Regions from separate parts of the Homo sapiens genome. Here region 1 is linked to region 2. The links are contacts of gene promoters, found by promoter capture Hi-C in human tissues and cell types (Jung and others, 2019). All regions are on one chromosome and are shown on one strand. Each heading gives the region's core, a stretch centred on a gene start or on the middle of the fragment in contact. The rest is flanking DNA. Distances are from core to core; before and after follow the strand shown.

Region 1 (4,278 bases), core at 239-2,738, 820 kb before region 2:
TGATAACATTCCAAAATATCTCAAAACAAAGTGATGAAGATATTAGATTAACCCTTGATACAAGATACAGAAGAGTATTTTCTACCTTGTCTTTTACCCACATAAATGGTAGCCTAGATAAGAAACATCTTTAGGGATCAGGAGAGCAGACTGGACAACAGACAGCACAAAGGTGGGTCAAGGGGATGGGAAGCAAAAGACCTTACCAAAGGGAAAGAAAAAACCAAACAGAAGCTTCCATCTTGCATTTTAGAGTTCCCTGAAGTCATTCAACTTCAATAATAAAACAATTCCAATTTTGAGAAATACCTTTGGAAAGAGGCAGAACACTATACAAATTCATTTAAAATTTTACTCGAGATTTTCCAAGGCTCTTAGAAATATTCCAACAAACAGAAAAATGATTCTGAATAAACAAAAAGTTAATATATAAATAACTAGAAATCTAAGATAATTCAGTTTTGGTAAATTCTGCATTTGATGAATGAAAAACAGTTAAAAAACAAATTATTCATTTGAAATGGGACACTTGAATCAGTTTTTTTATCATTTATATCAAAAGCCATTACAGTTGATCTTTTTAGTAACCCTGAGGCACTAAGAAAAAAAATCCTTAAAGTACCTTATGAATCAAAGAAAATAATTAGAGATATAGTCTCGGTTAAGTAGAAGCCAATTAAGCAGTAAACCCCATTTTCTAGGGATTTTCAATTTGCTGCAATTACAAAAGAAACAAAAAATACAAACTCTACAAGGACAGGGACTTTATTTTACTCCTTTTTTATATTTCTAGCACCTAAAACAATGCCTGGTATATAGTAGCTACTCAATAAAAATTTGCTGAATAGTAAGAATATTTTAGATTTATGTTTTGCGTGCTAATTTTTAAATCAACTTTGTGTTTTGAATCAATATGCACATATTTGGGTTCTGCTTTCAGTTTTAACTTGGTCACTTACTTCCCTTAAGAAAGTCACCCAAAATTCTTGCAACTTTTCTTACATCTGTGAATTAGGGATATTAATACTTGCCCTCCTATCTCACATGAGTTTGTGTATGGATCAATTACGATAATAGAAATGAAAATAATTGTGAACTATAATCACCATACAGACATCAGTGTTTACTGTTTCAAGTCCTCTGCACAATAAGTAAGGACATAAATAAGTTAGCAAGAGCCTCCCTTTACCCAAGGGGGATACGTTCCAAGACTCCCACGGATGCCTGCAACTTCAGATAGTACCAAGCCCTATATATACTATCATACCTGTGATAAACTTTAATTTATAAATTAGGTGTAGTAAGACATTAGCAACAATAACTGATGATAAAATAGAACAATATAACAATATGCTGTGATAAAACGTACATGAAAGTGGTCTCTCAAAATATTTTATCATACTGTACCATGTGGGTAACTGAAACCACAAATAAGGGGAAACTACTGTATTGTTTAAATTCAAATTTCTTCATTTTAACCTAGTTGAGTTACTAAAGATAATAAAAACCCTCTACATTTTCTTTAAATGTATTCAGTATTTACCTATAATTTGACTGATCTTCTGATAGCTAAAGCTTTTAAGTATCTATAGTTTATTGATGAATGCTAAACTGCTAGTTAACATGTGTAAACTAAAATCGGGATGTAATTGTTACTCTCTACCAAGTGATAGAACAGAACAGGATGTAAAATTGCAAGGTTTAGATTCCACTTTCAGCAAAATCCCCTTCTAGCCGTAACACACTTCTACATTTTAAAAATATTGAATTAATATTTACTGGGCATTTACTCTGTGTCAGGCACTATTTAAAGCACTTAGCATGTTTTGACTCATTTGATTCTCACAACACCCTATGAGGTAGAGACTATTCTCATTTTTCAGATAAGGAAACCAAAACACAGATAGGTTAGGCAACGTGCACAAGGTCGGAGAGAGGCGAGGGCTGCGTCAGGATTGGAACCCAGGTGTCAGCTTCCAGCATGCAGAGCTTTAATCACTAAGCCACACTGCATGTCTATCCATAGATGCCTCAGTTTCCCTCTGAGGATAATATTACAGTACTCCATAGAATTCTCTGTGAAGATCAAATGATATTAATATAAATAATGTAAAAATACTGGGTAACAGTCAAGGATTATATTTTTATTTTTATGTTTTTTTTTTTTTTTTTTTTTTTTGAGACTGAGTCTTGCTCTGTTGCCCAGGCTGGATGGAGTGCAGTGGTGTGGTCTCAGCTAACTGCAACCTCCACTTTCCGGGTTCAAGCAATTCTGCCTCAGCCTCTGGAGTAGCGGGAACTACAGGCATGCACCACCACGCCTGGGTAATTTTTTGTATCTCTAGTAGATACGGGGTTTCACCATGTTGGCCAGGCTGGTCTCGAACTCCTGGCCTCATGCGATCCGCCCGCCTCGGTCTCCCAAAGTGCTGGGATTACAGGTTTGAGCCACCATGCCTGGTCAAGCATTACAGAATTAATATTAAAGACAAAATTTTCCTTACCCAAATATTTTAAAACAAAATATCACCCCCCCACCTTACAACCTTTTTTTTTTTTTTTAACCTGTACAAACTGTAAATTATACTGTTCTGTTGTCTTCCTCTGGGGGAGAGGTGAACACACGAAGGAGATAAGTCAGTGTAAAAAAACATTAAACACAAAAGGCAGGCAGCATGGCTTAGGGGGATCATTTCAGTAGGCTCAAGCACAGAGATTCAGTGCAGGAAAAACTTTACATAATATCCCTGAATACTAAAAAGACAGAAAGTTATGAAACATCTGAGAGTTAATACCAAAAGATCAATGGTTTAAATGTTATCTAAATATATTTCAATTCAACAGAAACTTATGTAATCTAAATGGGAAACTTCTGATTTTGGCAAAGGTTTTCAAGCTTTCTTTTGCTGCTGGCAGAGATAAGTTTGGATGTGTGTGGGCTAACTGCAGACTAGATTTTTTCTAGTTAATAGTATTTACTTGTTTCATTATAAGAATTATACGAAGAAATTATAGTGAAGATCTTTTTTCATTATCAACAATAATGACAAGATCATTAATAACTACAACCGTACAGTTATATAAATACATGTCAAATGCCTAGCTTGCCAATTCCAAAGAAGTTAAAGCCTAAGGATTGTACAAACAGCTTATGACTGTACTAGTTAACATTTTGATTTACACCCATAAATTGTGAGACACTTATAAATCGGCCCTTTACCAACTCTAATTTGTTAGCTCTGAGATTTTTTTCCTGTTAGTTCACATTAAGAATTCAAAAGATTAAAAAACTTATCCTCATTAGTGCCATTCAGACATTTTCAAGCATGGAATTAATGATTCTTGAAAGAACTAAAAATGAGGAAAAAATAAGCTAATGCAGTGAAAGTCAGAAGACTTGGGTTCTATTCCTGCAAAAGTAGAATGAAGTTGCTAAGTGGGCAAAATCCTCATGTGCAATCTATGCAACTTGAAAAAAAGAGAGATTACATCTTTCAGAGCCTTTTCCTGTTAAACATAATATCCTCGATCCAAGAACCAGAATCTCTGTTAACTAAAATATTATTGGTCACAGAATGTTAAGCTAGACCTCAATTATCAAAAGTGCTCACTGTTCTTCCATGGACCAGGACCTGGATTCTTGTGAAACCCCTAATTCAAGGTCAGATCACTAAATCAGCAGTACTGTCCATAAGGTTCAGCCTCAGTGACCAAAAAAACTTCCTTGGATATGTATACTAAACATGTGCTATAAGGCAGGATGAACCCTAGACCAACGTTTAGGAGAAGCGGAAGATACAGCACTGCCTCTCTACCAGTTAACAGTGTGACGGTGTGCAAGTCTTCACTGCCTGGCATCTGCTTCCTCGCTTTAAAAATCACACCATGGTCAGTTACTAGGTGGTCTGTACAACTGAGTCCAGTTTCTCTTCTCTTTATTCACCCAGAGAAGCAGAGTCATGTGTATCAGAATTCTGTATTCCAAATACTTTTTTTTTGTTCTGAGCCTACCTTTCTATTTTATACCTGCCTACTCCTCACGAAGGCACTGAAAGAATACAAAAATCTCCGGGGTTTGTGCTTCGAACTCTAAAGATACTAAACAACACAAGATCTTGACATTAGTTCAATATGACTAAGCACTTGGGACAAAAGATGACCCGAAAGATGATCCTTTCAGTTACACAGTCTATAAATTTACCTGTAATACCTAAAGTCAGTTGCTATTCTAGATGTCTGTTTTCTTGGGGATTATTCCCCTATCATTTCATGCCAATG
Region 2 (4,034 bases), core at 613-3,112:
AACTATTACTCTTCATATTTGTTTAAAATCAAACTTTGACCTGTGTTTTCATGAATCTTATTTGATAAATATAGTACTGTTGAGAAATTTTCTTCCTTAGATAACACACTTACTAGAATGTAAAACTGTCCACTGGGTCACGCTGAATATTACAAGGAAATTAATTATAGAATTTCCCACCCACATATATCTCCTTCTAGGATAAAGTTATTTTTAAAAATCAAGAGAAATTTAAGACACGATTATAAAAAAGACAGATTACCCCAGACATTTGGCATGTTAGAAGACACAGATAGATTTTATTTTAAGTATAGCTCCCTTGTTCAATGTTATGGATAAGATATAGCTAAAACATGAATAGTGTGTAAATATGAATGTGTAAATATTCAGAGAATGAGGCAGAGATTTGAAATAATAAATAAGGAAAATATTGAGCCCTATTGGAAATTACTTGGAGTTACTCACAAATTACATGCCACCTCTTTTTTAAAGACTACCATTATATGATAAAATAAAATTTGGGTTGAATAAATGAAGTTGGAGTCTCCTTATCTTCAACAGGAAGCTGGCTCATATACTTGAGAGATGCTTTTTGAATATTTGACTTTCACTTTTTGCCAGAATGAACATTTGGGGAATATATCTGGCTAGACCTGAATAATACCCCCCAATCCCCAAGAAACACAGGAAGAAAGAGAGAGAGAGACAAAACTGAGAAAGAAGGGTGTCTAGGCTCTTAAAATTATCCTAGACATTGACTAAGTCCTAGACTCAAGAACTATTATAACCTAGGAAAAGTCCATCTCTAGAGTTAACATTTTATAATTTCTCACGATAATTAATAAAACTCTACTGTGTTTTTTAAATGAATCCATTAATAAAAAATATATCCTGTGTAATAGCCTAAGTTTGGGGATTCAGTTAGAAAAAAGGTTAGAGTTCCCTGAACTTATAGTACTTATTTCTCCAAATCCTCTGGACGTGTGTAAGGTAAGATTTATTTGTTCCATAGCCATTCACTCAACAGAGATTTCTTGAACACCTGCTATGTGTCTGCTGATTGCTGGGCTCATACTAGTCGGCAACACCGACATGATTTCTGCCTTCAGCCTTCATAATCAGATACTCATACAATCACATAGTTGGACACTATTTAAAAAAAAATGCTGGAAAGAGTTTAAGGCAGGGGTGGGTATTAAGCCCTTCCTGAGGAAATGGGACTCGGAGGAGGAGGATAAATTAACGATATTAAGAGTGAGGACGGGCGTGGATATGCTAGCCAGAGGGGACCTGTATGGACAAAAGGCCAGAGAAACTGATTTGGAAAATTAAGGTCCTCCCCCGCCCCTGCTCCCCACCCCCGACCCCGCCCAAACTTCGAGGTCCTCAGAATGCTGGAGCACAGAACACTACTTCTTACAGAATGGTTTCTGTATTTTGACTTTTCCCCAAAGACATGCTCTACAAGGAGGTGTCTCTTGGCTATAAACACTGCAGACAAGTTTTTGCTTGTGCATCTTGTCCAGCGCGTTTTGCTTGATTTTTAAATCTAGATGCATTTAGGCGGGCGTACACGTTCGGATTTGTCACAGGCCACCTAACTCTATTGGTCTCACACACGTGTGCCACCTGTCTGACCCCTGGGAAACAGAGTTTGCAAGGTTTTCCCGTTGACTACTCGACTTTAGCACCAAAGAGAAGCAGGAGTGCAGAAGACAGGGCAAAATCGCCAACCCGGCGCAAGCAGCGCAAGCGCAGTGGGCGCTGGGGAGCGCGGAGGAAAAGGCGGGACGCCGCATGGTGGCCAGTCACTGCGCATGAGCGGCCCGCGTTGCCAAGACAGCTGGGAAGGCGTCTCCCGGAAGACGACCTCCGCAGAGCTGATGGCATTGAGATCCATTCCCGGAGGGGTCAGCTCCTGACGGGTTCCTGAGCCAGTCTTAACCTGGGCAAAGGAGATGAGGAGCCGAGCCTGATGCATTGTGATGGCCATCTGCCCAGAATTGGCCCAAACGGACAAAAGTGCTCTTGCAAACCTTTCTGATGAGACTGAGACTTTGAAGAACTCTACTGATGAGGTACAGACTTCCAGCTCATTCAGCTCCTCTGGAGGACGGCAGTCCTCGCCCCTGACCTCTGGGAGCAAACTGGAGAGGGAAAAGCAGACTCCAAGCTTGGAACAAGGAGACACACAATCTGAGCTTTTGGACTATAAAAATTATGAAAAGAAGTTGAGTAAAAAATGGATCAACTACCTCAAGCTCAAAGACTCTAACTTTGAACGGCACCAACCAGACACCAAACTTCCAACAGAAATCACTCGGGTATCAGATGAAGAATTGAATGCCCTGCAGTCTTATTGCACCATGAAGATAAATTTGATTCATCGTAGAGGGGATTCTAAGAAGAAGACGAGCAGCAGACATAAAAAGCTGCATCTTGGATTGGATGTAGAGGCTTCAGAGAGAGATGCCTTTAGTTGTACTGTACCCGATGAACTTTTGAACAGAATCTACTTTAAAAACATGAGGACAACGCCAAAACAGGAGGCAGCAGCTAAGCAACACATATCTTATCAGTGTCCCTATTGTAACAGGAAAAGAGCGGAGCTGGCCCTGTCTGCCTTTCTGAAACAAAAGAAGACTTTACTGGAGTCATTTCTACTCCAAGAGAGAATAGATGAACATCTTCATACCAAAGACTTTCTCACCCGTATTGGAGAAGCACATCAAGACTTTCCCAGGCTTTCAGATGACCCCAGAATAATCTGGAAAAGACTGACTGAGAAAAGTCATATCAGATACTCTGGTTTTGAAAGATCAGAGACAGAGCAGAAGTTGCAGCGAGATGGAAATAGTGCTTGTCATTTACCATTTTCTCTGCCATTTCTCAAGCGACTTACTCTAATCAAACCAGAGCTGGTGATTGTTAATGATAATGTGTAATGTGGATAGATGTCTTTGTTGTGTATTTGAGTAATTACCATAATTTCTACAGGCACTTGGGAAACTAACTTAAGACTTTACTATGCTTCCTTCACAGATTTGAGGACTAAGAACTTTCACTTTTTTTTTCCTATTATAGAAGGCACTGTTGTAGTTGGAATAGTTATAAAAACTTTTACAAAATTCCAAGAGAACTATGTTGGTAGTTTGGGCCAGGATGTTGATGGTACAGAAGCAAAGTAGTATGGGGATGTAAGAGAAACTTAAAAAGTAATAACTGTCTTTGGCGATCAAATGGCTATGGGGAATTAATAAATAGTAGATGTTTGAAATGTTATTAAGGCTCTGACTTGTGCGCCCGGATGAATGATCATTAATTTCATTAAGACAGGAACACCAGAAGAGGACTATGTTTGATGGAACTGTTGAAGAGTATGATTATTTGGACATATAAGGTGCATTTGGGACATACACATTGACAGTTTGAAGAAACATTTGATTATTTGTTTTTGCGCTTCAGAGGAAAGGTATAGCCTAGAGGTGCAAAATAAATTGGGGTAGGACTGGGGGAAGGGTGGGGATCAATGGCATATAGCTGGAAGTTGAAGCCGTAGATTGTCAAGCGTTTTTGGAAATGAATAAGAAGAGAAGCAGGGTTGATACAAACTCTTGAGAAATGCCAATTAATGGCTAAGTAGAGAAAAATAAACCTGCAGAAAAGATTGTGAAAAAAGTTATCAAGTGGATCAAGGAAATCAGGAATGTATAGTGTCATAGATGCTAAGGAATGAATATTTAAAGAAGGATAGTTGTCTAACCACATCAATCAACAGAGAAGCCATGTAAAGATGATTTAGTCATGTATTGGGCACTGCTGACCTTAGCAAAAGCCATTTCACTTATACAAATGGGGCAGACAAAATAGATTGAGGAAAAATGTAAGTAAATAATGAATGGATATAGGGTACTCCTTGAAATATTTAGCTGTAAGGGGAAGAAGAAGTAAAGCTGGGGTTAGGTGTTGAGTTTTGAGAGAAGAACGCTTAAACAAATTATCTAGATAGCCATTTTGGTCGTGAAGATTTTATG

What was found. The method cuts DNA at HindIII sites, captures the fragments that hold promoters and counts their contacts. A contact is called where the count stands out against the background at its distance.
Region 1: a fragment that was not itself captured here is called in contact with the fragment with the promoter of C8orf48 in region 2 in 1 of the 25 tissues and cell types used here (hippocampus).

What each region holds. Positions count from the first base shown.
Region 1 is chr8:12,749,142-12,753,419 of GRCh38, forward strand. All of the region lies in intron 1 of LONRF1 (LON peptidase N-terminal domain and ring finger 1), which reads right to left. Among named protein-coding and RNA genes, the nearest start is that of LONRF1, 4.2 kb to the right of the region's middle. The HindIII fragment of the contact is 4,489 bases long and covers 1-3,733 here.
Region 2 is chr8:13,565,007-13,569,040 of GRCh38, forward strand. It overlaps C8orf48 (chromosome 8 open reading frame 48), which reads left to right and starts at 1,863. Exons shown (of 1, transcript NM_001007090.3): 1 at 1,863-3,282. The coding sequence starts at 1,986. The coding sequence ends at 2,945. It also overlaps a transcript of DLC1 not described here. The HindIII fragment of the contact is 18,894 bases long and covers 1-4,034 here.